Regions from separate parts of the Homo sapiens genome. Here region 2 is linked to region 1. Evidence: promoter capture Hi-C in 16 types of primary human blood cells and fetal thymus (Javierre and others, 2016). All regions are on one chromosome and are shown on one strand. The core of a region is centred on a gene start or on the middle of the fragment in contact, and the rest is flanking DNA. Distances in the headings are between cores, read along the strand shown. Region 1 holds the start of RPL22L1 (ribosomal protein L22 like 1). Region 2 holds the start of MYNN (myoneurin).

Region 1 (6,705 bases), core at 603-3,102:
GTCCAAATTAAACCTCCAGGTTGACCTCTTGGGCTTCCTGTCTTTCTGCTACATAAATGAGAAATAATTATGTAGCTATATAAAACAACTTATTCAATTTATATAAACAATTTTAAAGTTTGTACCAATGCAATCTGTACAATGTACTGTTAGGTTACATATACAGAAATGTAACAATAAATAAAAAAACACCACCACTACCCACGCCGGGGTTGATTTGAACCTCTAACCAAGTCCTAATATGTTCAAGTTGTCAAAAAGTTACGGACTTTCATTGTTTTCTATACTACCAATGATCAATTTTAAATTATCGTGCTTTTCTGCCACCCCACTGCAGATGGGAATAGGTTAGTATACTGCCTAGCCCAAGCTCAGGTAAGTGCCAGAGCTAGGATTCCACCCACCTATGTCTAGAAAATTCAATTCTTACGTTATTATAGGCAAGGGAAGGGGACTTTGGTAAAAAAAAAAAAAAAGAAAAGAAAAGAAAAAGAAAAAATAAAAATAAAAAAGGCAAGGTGCCGTCCCAGCACTTTGGGAGGCTGAGGCAGGAGGATCACGTGAGGTCAGGAGTTCAAGGCCAGCCTGGCCAACATGGTGAAACCCCATCTCTAGTAAAAATACAAAAATTAGCCAGGTGTGGTGGTGCATGCTTATAATCCTAGCTATTCAGGAGGCTGAGTCGGGAGGATTGCTTGAACCCGGGAGGCGGAGGTTGTAGTGAGCCTGATCATGCCACTATACTCCCACCTGGGCAACAGACTCTGTCTCAAAAAAAAAAAAAAACCTAAAAACCAACACCGTGGAACTTAAATTTTCCATATCCAAACCTTTTATACCAAGACCATATAATATGGCTACATAAGCAAAATGTTACTGTGGCCAGCAACCATGTACATTCACTGCAATATGAACAAACAAATCTGTATTTATCAGACTATAACCTCCAATTTAGATTCACCCAAGTGGCTACCAAGTATTACACATTAGTTTGCTTTCTCAGGTAGCATGGTAACATGTGCCAAAAGATAATTACCCAGTTGGCGCAGAAGTTAATTTGGGAGACACAAACAACTTCTGTCTAATGGAACAGATAACCCTATAGGGTTTATGGCCATGCTGGGCATTACCCAGTTTTGTAGCTAGCCCAGCAATTTTATCCTAACTTTATTTGTAAATTGCGCATGTATATCTAGCTTTTCAGATATTCTTAGGAACATTTTAACATCTTACTGGTTCCCTTACTAATGACTTAAGTAAAACATCTGAAGCACGTTTATTTCACATTGCTGGAATCTAGACTTATACTTTTCTAAAAATTACTTCACCGAGAAACTTCTTCCCCAACTGAAAGTTCTCAAAAACTTGTGATGTCGGCCATCGCGGGAGCTGAGCGCCTAGGAGCTCCCTCTGGCCTGGCAAAGGTCGTCAGACCGGCCCGATTACCCACCATTCCCCTACCCAGTGCTGAGTGGCAAAAGCATTATCAGGCGCGAGATAGTAAAGAAATGGCTCAGATTGCAGTACCACCGGCCCATTTACAGTTGTGCCTCCCTCTTTCCCGCGTGTCCAAAACCACCCATCCTAAACCAATTCCGGGCCCAGCTCCAACTCCACTAGACCTCATGGCAGCTGCCAGGGAGTCTCGAAAAACAGTTCAGGATCCTCGCGTCTTGGTTGTGTTTCTGACCCAGACTTCACTACTCCCCTCCCTTTATCTTGACTGAGACGTCTCCACTCGACAGATGCAAAAATCGTTACAGCGGAAATCATTAAATTGCCACACAACACTCCCACCAAGACATCGCTCACTCACCGGCGCCATCTTGCGAGTCGGCCGCGAGAGCAGAGAGGAAGCTACGGCCGCGCGGTCTGCATTTATATCAAAGCGTGCTGCGTCACGCGCTGAGAGCGTCAGATTGTCGCCTCCCGGAAAAGAAAGCGGGAGGAGCGCTGAGGCCGGTAACCCAGGAAACCAGTGCGCTGCCGGACGAGAGTAGGCCATCGGCTTTCCGCGGGCACACGCGGGTGGCTGTGGTTGAACTGACTCTCGGGTTTCCGCTCCTGGCTGTTCAAGCCGATTAATTGCAGTGGCCTCTACAGTTACCTAGTGGCTGCTCCCGGATACGGACGCACGCGAGGGATGCAGGAGTCATCTTTCACTAATCACCGGAATCCCCTTTCCAATCAGGGCAAGGCAGTGTCTCAGGTTGCTTTGGGATCTCCTTTTATTGCAGTTATAATCCTCCAGCGAAAAAGTTATTTGTTTGTGTTTTGTCTGTGAGCCTCGTTTTCTAAATGACTGTTGAGGGAAATTGGTGCTTCGGGGACCAGGTCCTCGGGAAAAAAAAATCATGTATATATATGCTTACACGCCCACGCCTGTAATCCCAGCACTTTGGGAGGCCGAGGCCGGAGAATCTCTTGAGCCCAGGAGTTCGAGACCACCCTTGGCAGCGTAGGCATAGGGAGAACCCGTCTCTACAAACAATTTTAAAAAAAATGGCCCGCGTGGTGGTGCGCGTCTGTACTCCCAGCCACTCGGGAGGCTGAGGCAGGAGCATCGCTTTACCTTGAGAGGCGGAAGTTGCAGTGAGTCGAGATCGAGCCACTGCACTCCAGCCTGGGTAACAGTGAGACTGTCTCAAAGGGAAAAACACGTAGTGCTTGCTTCTTGTTCATTCGTTTGGTATAATTTATCATGGGTTTTACAGTTAATCCCAGGTCTCTTGATTTCCATCCAAAATGCTCCCAGTTAAAATTCAATGAATGTTTGCTGTGACCTATCAGTATGTACAAGACACACGAGGGTGGAAGTGTCTTGCTGACAAAAGGAAAAAGTAGCTTTTGAGCTTTGAAGGATTGTAAATTGACATCAGATCCGAAAAGTGGCATGCTGAACCGCTTGGGTTTAGCAGTAATATGTTTTCGTGGAGATGAAATTATCATACCTAGGGGTAGGGGTAAGGGATGGGGTGGACTTTGTTGTTAATTTGAAGAATGACCCCAGAAAGTAAGAACTGTTCGTGGCCTTTATGCCAGCAAGTAGTTATCGTGGAAACTATGCTTTAATAGAGCATATGACTTGTAGAGTCTGAAGAGAGGCCCTGAATTCCTAGAAGAAATCCATTTCAACAAGATTTTTTAGTTGTCTGCCTTAAGAGCTACAATAATCACATTTCTCTTTCCAAACATTAAAGGGAGCAATTGGCATTTCCTCCTCAAGGGCTGCCTAAGCTGAGGGGCAGAAATGATTCTATTTTGCTTGTCTTTAGCAGTCTTCCATGTCTTGACAATAAACTCCTTAAGCACTATTAAGCCATTTGTACAAGGAGGATATGGAAACATACCTGTTTCACAAGAACTAGTAATCACCAAATAACTAGTTAGAAACTGTAATGGGGGAAAAATGTTTGTCAATTAGAAAAAAAAACAAGAATATTAGCGAGAAATGTGCAGATGGGAAGACTAAAAGTTGTAAATAATTCAGTTCTTCCCAAACTGTGCGTGTGCACACGTATATAGTAACACAATGCTAGTCAATACCCTATAGTTATTTTTTAAAAATTTGACAGCTAATTAAAAAAATTTTAACATTTATTTTAGATTCAGAGGGTACATGTACAGTTTTGTTACATGAATATATATAATGATGGTGGGGTTGGGGTGCGATTGATCCCTTCACCCAGGTAGTGAAAATAGTACCCAATAATTAGATTTTCAACCCTTCCCCACTTCTAGTATTCCCAGTGTCTATTTTTGCCATCTTCATGCCCATGAGTATCCAATGTTTAGTTCCCACTTACAAGTGAGAAGTACAGTATTTGATTTTCTGTTCCTGCATTAATTCGCCTAGGATAATGGCCTCCAGCTGCAGCCATGTTGCTGCAAAGTATGTGATTTTGTTCTTTATGGCTTGTGTTGACAGCTAATTCTAAAACGTATGACACAATAAATGTCTGAAAAGAGCCAAGACACTCTAGACCAATGAAAGGGAGTATGCCTTTCCAGCTCTTCCAATATAAGATATAATAGATGATAGATATGTATTTAATATATTATAAACTTCAGTCATTGGATCTACATGATGCTGAAGCCTTAGTAAACAGATCAGTAAGCAAAAAAACACAGAAAAACCCCTCCATATGTAACTACCTTACCAATGGCTAAAATATAGTTTTATTTTTATGTATGCATTTATTTATTTTTTAGAGACATAGTCTTGCTCTGTCGCCTAGGCTGGAGTGCAGTGGCGCAATCTCAGCTCACTGCAACCTCCGCCTCCCTGGTTCAAGCAATTCTCCTGCTTCAGCCTCCCAAGTAGCTGGGATTACAGGCGCTTACCACCAGGTATGGCTAATTTTTCTATTTTTACTAGGGTTTTCGCCATGTTGACCAGACTGGTTTCGAACTCTTGGCCTCAACTGATCCGCCCACCTTGGCCTCCCAAAGTGCTGGGGTTACAGGTGTGAGCCATTGTGCCCGGCCTAAAATACAGTTTTATAAATAATTTTTTAATGTATGGTTGAGCTGGTGGAAAAGTAAAATAATTTTTAGGGGCAGAAATGACAAGCAATGATCATACATGTTTGGAACTTGAATTAGCTCTGCTCAGATAGCATGAAAAAGCTCCAAACTGAATATGTAGTTTAAAGTGTGCTTGTATTATTAACACCAGACAGAAGCAAGGGCAAATACTCTCTGGAGAAATGCATTTTAGATCCAGGTACAAATAATTCCCTGAGATAAGCTTCAAGAAATATGAGCTGACAGGTTTTGTTTTGTTTTGTTGAGATGGAGTCTTGTTCTGTCGCCAGGCTGGAGTGCAGTGGCAAGATCTCAGCTCACTGCAACTTCTGCCTCCAGGGTTCAAGTGATTCTCCTGCCTCAGCCTCTCGAGTAGCTGGGACGACAGGCGCACCACCATGCCAGCTAATTTTTGTATTTTTAGTAGAGACGGGGTTTCACCATGTTGGCCAGGATGGTCTCGATCTCTTGACCTCGTGATCTGCCCGCCTTGGCTTCCCAAAGTGCTGGGATTACAGGTGTGAGCCACCGTGCCCGGCAGAGCTGACAGTTTTTTAAAATCATGAAAATACAGGAAAACAAGCCACCGTGGATGAAAATCAACATCAAAAACCTATGAAATCAGACTCACAGAGACTTTATATGTTGGAATTATGAAATGCAGAATATAAAATAAGTATTTGTAGTATATGCAAAAACTAAAAGTATTTAGGATATGATAAGGAAGTCAGAGACAATCAAAATTGATCAGATTTTTTTTTTTTTTTTGAAAAACAGCAAAAGGAGACCGGGCACGGTGGCTCAAGCCTGTAATCCCAGCAGTTTGGGAGGCTGAGGTAGGCAGATCACTTGAGGTTAGGAGTTCGAGACCACCCTGGCCAACATAGAGAAACCCCCGTCTCTACTAAAAATACAAAAATTAGCTGGGTGTGGTGGTGATGCCTGTAGTCTCAACTACTTGGGAAGCTGAGGCAGGGGAATCACTTGAACTGGGGAGGTGGAGGTTGCAGTGAGCTGAGATCATGCCATTACACTCCAGCCTGGGCAACAGAGCAAGACTCCGTCTCAAAAAAAAAAAAAACAAAAAAACAAAAGAGAACATTTAGACATTAAAAAGAGAAAAACTGAAATTAGAAAAAGTAGATGAGTTAAACAAGAGAGTAAACAGCTGAAGAGAAATCAGTGAGTGGGAAATTACTTAGAATGCAATGTGGAAAAGCAAATAGATGTAAGGTATAAAAAACAGGTTAAGAGACCAGGATGTCAGAATAAAAGTTTTCTGGATATGTCAACCAGGAGATCCAGAAGGATGTAATAGAGACAATGGGGAAATGGCAAAATCTAGAGAGATAATGGCTGAATTTCCAGATACAGGAATCCCCAAGAGGGATAATTTTAAAGAAATGCACACCTATATACATTGTAGTGAAACTTCAAAACACAAAGTCATTTCAAAAGCACCCAGAGAAGGAAAAGACAAAATATTTACTAAATGACTTATACTAATAGCTGACTTTCCATCTGCAACAATGGAAGCCGGAGGCAAAGGAATATTATCTGCAGAGCACTGTGAGAAAATAACTGTCTACCTAGAGCTACAAAAAACAAAACAAAACCAAGAATACATTTCAAGAGTAAAGATGCATTTATGACATTTTTAGGCCACAAAGCTGAAAGTTTGCCATCAAGAGCTCTTCAGTAAAGGAATTCTGAAAGATATACTTTAGGAAGAAGGAAAATGACCCTAGAAAGAAGGCTTATATGTCAAAAGAAATGGTGAGCAAAGAAAATAGCAAACTTGTGAGTAAATCTAAACAACTACTAACTGTAGACAATAGTAATAATTATGTCTAATTTGTGGGTTCACAGAACTTTTTTAAAAAACTCAATATCATAGGCAGATTATGTACTGTTAATGTTGTATTTCTTCATCTTGGTGATATTTACATGGGTATGTTTACTTTGTGAAGACTCATCAAGCTGTAAATTATAATCTGTTCATTTTTTCTGTATATATGTTATAATTCAATTAATAGTAATAAGATAGTATAAACTACCACTTGCCAATATATGGCAAATTAGATAAAATGAGCAAATTCCTAGAAAAATACAGTTTATCAGAATGTACACAAGAAGAAATAGAATATCTGAATAGTCCTATATCTTTTAAATAAATTG
Region 2 (6,705 bases), core at 1,783-4,282, 1.1 Mb before region 1:
TTATTATATGTATAAATATAAATATATAAAAATTTATATTTATATTTATTATATGTATAAATATAAATATATAAAAATTTATATTTATATATCATAAATATAAATATATAAAAATTTATATTTATATATCATAAATATAAATATATAAAAATTTATATTTATATATCATAAATATAAATATATAAAAATTTATATTTATATATCATAAATATATAAAAATTTATATTTATATATCATAAATATATAAAAATTTATATTTATATATCATATATAAAAATTTATATTTATATATCATATATAAAAATTTATATTTAGATATCATATATAAAAATTTATATTTAGATATCATATATAAAAATTTATATTTAGATATCATATATAAAAATTTATATTTAGATATCATATATAAAAATTTATATTTAGATATCATATATAAAAATTTATATTTAGATATCATAAATAAAAATTTATATTTAGATATCATAAATAAAAATTTATATTTAGATATCATAAATAAAAATTTATATTTAGATATCATAAATAAAAATTTATATTTAGATATCATAAATAAAAATTTATATTTATATATCATAAATATATAAAAATTTATATTTATATATCATAAATATATAAAAATTTATATTTATATATCATAAATATATAAAAATTTATATTTATATATCATAAATATATAAAAATTTATATTTATATATCATAAATATATAAAAATTTATATTTATATATCATAAATATATAAAAATTTATATTTATATATCATAAATATATAAAAAATTATATTTATATATCATAAATATATAAAAAATTATATTTATATATCATAAATATATAAAAAATTATATTTATATATCATAAATATATAAAAAATTATATTTATATATCATAAATATATAAAAAATTATGTTTATATATAATAAATATATAAAAAATTATGTTTATATATAATAAATATAAAAATTTGTTTATATATAATAAATATAAAAATTTATGTTTATATATAATAAATATATAAAAATTTATGTTTATATATAATAAATATATAAAAATTTGTTTATATATAATAAATATATAAAAATTTATGTTTATATATAATAAATATATAAAAATTTATGTTTATATATAATAAATATATAAAAATTTATATTTATATATAATAAATATAAATATATATATTTCGATTTCTATCCTTCTGGTGTAATCTGCAAGCCTCATTCGCTACTCTTGATTTTTAGGCTGAAGGACGTGCCTGTCTTTTTGCAGGAAAAGTGAAGTTTATCAGGTCATATGAAATTCAAGTTTGGAAAAATTTGAAAGTACATTGCATGTCAATAAACGCATCTTGGTGTCTGATTCTGCATACATCTGTAGAGAATTTGAAAACAAGCAGTCAATTTAGAACTTCTGCTTGGTCTTCGGAAGCAAAAAGAGGAAATTCAAAAGTAATTTTACACGTCCTTCCACCAGAAGCTGAAAGGATGGCTTTTTCGCGGCTGAATAACGAAAGCCCCCTGCTTCGCCCCGGACTCTGAGCAGCTCAACCTGCGGAAAGGATGTGTAATAAAACGCCTTTCCAGGGAGACAAAAAAAAAAAAGGCCACCCAAAGGAAGGGCAACTCGGGAGTGCCTGGTTTCTACTGCGGTACCCGGGCACTTTGGAAGAAAGTGCGTGCAGATTCAAGCTTTTGAAATGGTTTCAGCTCTGTTCAATTGGGCATAGGCTATTTTTCCTTTTCTGTTTTTTTCTTTAAATACATTATATTCATTCCTCTCAATTTGATAATAATCACTTGAGAATTGCGAATTGACACTTACATATCAAGGACTTTACAAAACCCTCTCCAAAGTGGGGTTTCCGTAGTGTAGTGGTTATCACGTTCGCCTAACACGCGAAAGGTCCCCGGTTCGAAACCGGGCGGAAACACACTAAAAAATCCCTTTTTTTTTTTTTTTTTTTTTCCTTCGCTTGGAAGAAAGCGTGAGATCACGCTTTGTTTTCTTTTGTTGTTTGTTTTGTTTTTTTTTCTGAGGGAAGCCTTAGCTTAATGTATGCCGGTCCTTCAAAAGACATGATAGCAATTTGAGAGTCTGAACTGTAAGTTTTTGTTACTTTATTCGTTCACCAAATGTTTTTATGGAAGCCTTGCCACGTGGAACATGTGTCCCGGGTTTTAAAAAATGAATTTGACTCACCAGCTAACACTGAAAAAATAATGTACAGCCTAGAAGGAAAGATCAAAGTGTAAAAGTGGTTAGTCCTGTCGCCTCCTGAGCATTTTTGTATTATATCACTTGGTTTTTCGTCTGAAGTGGCTGTAAATAATCGTATTAAAAATCTTCTGGTCCAGACGCAGGAAAACCTTTTCCGGTATAAAGCCCACCTTCCTCTAATGTTGCGCATGCCCACTGTGCCCAGCTGCTCCGCTTTCGTGCATCCCAGACTTCTGTCACCAGGTAAGGGCATCTTGGAAGCTGAGCTACAGTTGGCTGGGGCACAAAAAAACCAGGGGGTGCCAAGAGTTTTCAGGTACGTAAGCGGGAAAGGGGTGCCAAGTCTCAGCTAAAAAATCCCCTATGGCAGAGATCCGAGTACACATGCAGCAGTTTCCACCGGTGGGGCCCCGAGGAAGGGGAGGATGATGGGAGAAGACAAGCAACTACAAGCCCCCGCACGCAGTGCGCAGCTGGCTTCAGGAGAGAGGCCCGCGGTGCTGTGCTGCCGGGCCTCGGCGCAGAGCCCCGGCAGAGCGCCAGACGCTGACTGCCGGCACCAGAATGCTCGCGATGAGGAAGACAGGCGGAGCGCTGCGAGCTAGCGAGCCCTCAGCTCTCGTATCCATGACGCCTGCTGCTTCGGGGGACCCCTGGCATGCTGGGGAGTGGGTCTCTGTGGTACATCCTGTACCGCCCTGGCCGGCGCCGGACCCCCATGGCCCCAGAACCTCCCGCACTGCCACGGGAAGACAGAGCCGGACGTGACGCCACCGTGGAAGGAAGGGAGGGGCGGAGCGTGGCTCGGTGACGTCCTCCCAAGATGGCGGAGACAGAGTGAAGAAACTGTGTTCCCCCCTTGGGTTGCTATCGGTGAGTTCCTACTTCACCCCCAGCCCGCCATCCCGGTCTCTCTAGAGCCTGGGCCATCAGAGGGCAGGCTCCTTGGAGTTCCAGCACGGGTCGGGGCGCAGGTGGAAGGCTTGGGCTAGGCAGCCCCGGGGTGGCCTGGGCCACAACCTCTGCTGTGGAAATTCGCGGGAGTGGGAGCTGGGCAGAGGGCAGGGCGGCAGAAGCCGAGGAGGGACTGGCTTTGGTTGTCACTCTCGGATGCCGCCTCGCGTAGAGAGTGGGAAGGGAGAAGGTGTGGCCTCCTTAGCGCGAGTGATAGAACCTTTGACAGCAAGCCATGGCCGGGCGCATTCCCGGCTTTCTGGGCAGCCACCTCTCGTTTTGGAGAAACTGCACTGGGGAAACTAACAGGTTTTGGTGACTTGAGAGCAGTTTTTAAAAACTCGTACTGTTCTGCCCCTATCTGTCCCAAGAGATCATGTCTTAGTGGTTTAAAAAATTTTTTTGTAACATAAGTATGTCTACTGAGCTTGAAAATCTGAGGGTTCAACAGATGTGAAAGCGTCAGGTTTTGCTGTGCTTTTTGCAGGTGGTAGAAGTGTTGCCATTCACCGTCACTTATTGATGTGTCCAAAGGATTGTGTTAGTTGATCAAGGTAACCAAAGATAGAAAGGCACTCATCCCTTCATTCTTAACCATGTATGTTTGATAAGGATTTTCAAGGGGGCTAAAATTGTTTAAGTTATGTCCTCTGTCCCTTCCCTCACTGAACGTTGATGAGAACTTACGGTTACTGATTTACTGTTTCTTTTTGTCTTTTAGATCAAGGGTAAAATTCCATTCTGATATCAAAATGCAGTATTCGCACCACTGTGAGCACCTTTTAGAGAGACTGAACAAACAGCGGGAAGCAGGTTTTCTCTGTGACTGTACCATAGTGATTGGGGAATTCCAGTTTAAAGCTCATAGGAATGTGCTGGCCTCCTTTAGTGAGTATTTTGGTGCGATCTACAGAAGCACTTCTGAGAACAATGTCTTTCTTGATCAGAGTCAGGTGAAGGCTGATGGATTTCAGAAACTGTTGGAGTTTATATACACAGGAACTTTAAATCTTGACAGGTAAAGTACACATTTTATTTTCAGTTATAAAAGCTAGTCAGTAGTCTTCACAGCAAAAGTAGATTTGTATTTTTTCCATTCATTCTCTGAACTCAAATTCTTCACCTATTTATGCACACAATGTTTGTTTTTATAAAGAAATCAGTATCACTGATTTAGGATGAGCAGGCAATATTTTTCATAAGCACAGATAATAAACAGTAAGATTTCTGACACGTTTATTTACTGAAACAAAGCCTGTGATTTCACTTATGTAAACTTGAACATTAAACACAATGAATTTATTTTATTTTATTTTTGAGACGGGCTCACCGTCACCCAGGCTGGAGTGCAGTGGGGCAATCTCGGCTCACTGCAACCTCTGCCTCCCGGGTTCAAGCGATTCTCCCACCTCAGCCTCCCTAGTAACTGGGACTACAGGTGTGCACTACCACACCTGGCTAATTTTTGTATTTTTTGGTAGAGACAGGGTTTCACCATGCTGGCCAGGCTGCAAACAAAAAATTCTAAGTTACTTCCAGTTTCCCATTGCTTTTTGGTCCTTGAATTCCTCTGGTCTTCTGTCTCCCTCATTCTGACTCCTGTTATCTCTATTAACCTACCAGTACTAATACTGAAGTAAGGTCAGAGATGCTAGAATGATTCTCTAAGATGCTTACTGATGTCACTGCATTAACAAGAAGTGGGTTCTGAGGAATCTGATAATGTAGGCACTGTGTGTCTCCCCTGTATAACGAACCATATAATTAGATTAATATCAATACATTTACAGATTGTAGGGGAAAAGGTGGAGGGAATAAAAGCAAAGAGAAACTGATTAAATTACCCCTGTCTTATTTCTGTCTCTCTTATGAAAGTGAACATGAATAGACTGTTCATAATCTTCTGACACAGGAAGATTATAGGCTTTGGAATTAGATCTTTCCTGTCAGTCGCTATGTCTCCTTGAGCATGATGCAATCTCTCTGGGCCTCAGTTTCCCCATCTGTCAAAATGAGATGGTAATAACTACCTTGAGGCTAAATAAGGTTTTACTTGATCCTTATTCACTTCCCACTGAACGTTAATTTCTTTATTTTTCTTCTTTACCCTCTCCTCCCCCTTTAATTCCACATTTCTCGGAGAAAAAATAGAAAAAACAAAAAAGAAACACCTGAAATACTGCTGCCCACTGATAACCCCTGTTAACCTTTTGATATATATTAATTAATTCTTTTCCAGATCTCTGTAGAGATGTGCATGTATACATTAAGCAAAATCTTTCCCTCCCTTTTATATTGTAACTTATCATGGAAATATACTTATTTAAAAATCTAGAATCAGGGTGCTCATTAATCCTTTTGACGAGGAAACATTCTTGTGTAAGAAGTATCCAGTGGGGGGAGGGGAGGGAGAGAAAAGTAAACTTTCATGCTATTTTGGAATTATTTTTAAATTTTGGTATAATGAAATCTTCAAGTGAGTTCTTTATAAGTTGATTAAAGGAAAAGAGCAGTGTGAATTTTGGCTGGCCTGCAATTTAATGGTTTCCCTTTCTCTCAATTAACTATGCAAAACAAAAAAATCTTCATTTGAATACACGGTAGAGCACTTTTCTTTGAGACTTCATGCAAAGAACCAATGTGAAGAACAGCCAGGTGTTTTGTTCAGTCTCTTTTGGTACATATCTTTCCTGGAGACTGGGGAGCTAATTCCTCGAGTTCAGCTAGAAATGTAAGAGAGGATTTATACCAAAATAGAAAGGCTTACAACTTAGTGATTAAGAAAACAGGTAGAATATATTAAGTTGGCTCAGGGGCCAGATTACCTTGGTCAAATCTTGGTTCTAACATTCTGTGCTCTTGGACAGGTTACTTTATTTCTTTGGACTTCTGATTTTTCACTTGTGTGTAAAATGAGGATTATAATAGATTTCATAGGCATGTCCTGAGGATAATCTTATAAAGCATTTAGGCATGTACCTGGCAATATGTAATTAAATGACCTTCAGTGACTGTTCAGAGGATGTTATCTAATACTTGTAAACAAAAGCAAATCTGTTATTGAAGTATTGATTGGTGCTCTTAACTGTGACTGAGATTATAGCCATCTATGAAATAGTTTGTATGAATTACCATTTCAATGTTGAACAAATTTTTTTTTTTTTTTTTTTTTTTTTTTGAGATGGAGTCTCACTCTGTCACCCAGGCTGGAGTGCAATGGCGTGATCTCGGCTCACTGCAACCTCCACCTCCCAGGTTCAAGGGATTCTCCTGCCTCAGCCTCCCGAGTAGCTGGAATTACAGGCACCCGCCATCATGCCCAGCTAATTTTTGTATTTTGTAGATACGGGGTTTTACCATGTTGGCCAGGCTGGTCTTGAACTCCTGACCTCAGGTGATGCGCCCACCTTGGCCTTACAGGCATAAGCAACTGCACCCGGCCTTGAACAATTAATGTATGACTTCCTGCTAACTTATATTGGTCTTAAAGGCTACCTGACCTTGTTATCTGTTTGGCGGTTTATT

Evidence for each region. Contacts are between HindIII fragments. The CHiCAGO score rates a contact against its expected background, and 5 or more counts as called.
Region 2: the fragment with the promoter of MYNN here is called in contact with the fragment with the promoter of RPL22L1 in region 1 in 1 of 17 cell types (neutrophils); the score reaches 7.0 in neutrophils.

What each region holds. Positions count from the first base shown.
Region 1 is chr3:170,868,343-170,875,047 of GRCh38, forward strand. RPL22L1 (ribosomal protein L22 like 1) reads right to left here and starts at 1,853. Exons shown (of 4, transcript NM_001099645.2): 1 at 1,817-1,853; 2 at 1-48. The coding sequence starts at 1,825. RefSeq lists enhancers at 1,346-1,395, 1,565-2,291, 2,292-3,017. The HindIII fragment of the contact is 15,380 bases long and covers 1-4,748 here.
Region 2 is chr3:169,770,364-169,777,068 of GRCh38, forward strand. It overlaps MYNN (myoneurin), which reads left to right and starts at 3,033. Exons shown (of 8, transcript NM_018657.5): 1 at 3,033-3,099; 2 at 3,902-4,198. The coding sequence starts at 3,933. TRV-AAC1-1 (tRNA-Val (anticodon AAC) 1-1) reads left to right here and starts at 1,867; the gene lies at 1,867-1,939. RefSeq lists enhancers at 1,583-1,682, 2,573-3,122, 2,696-3,199, 2,838-3,132. The HindIII fragment of the contact is 7,916 bases long and covers 1,696-6,705 here.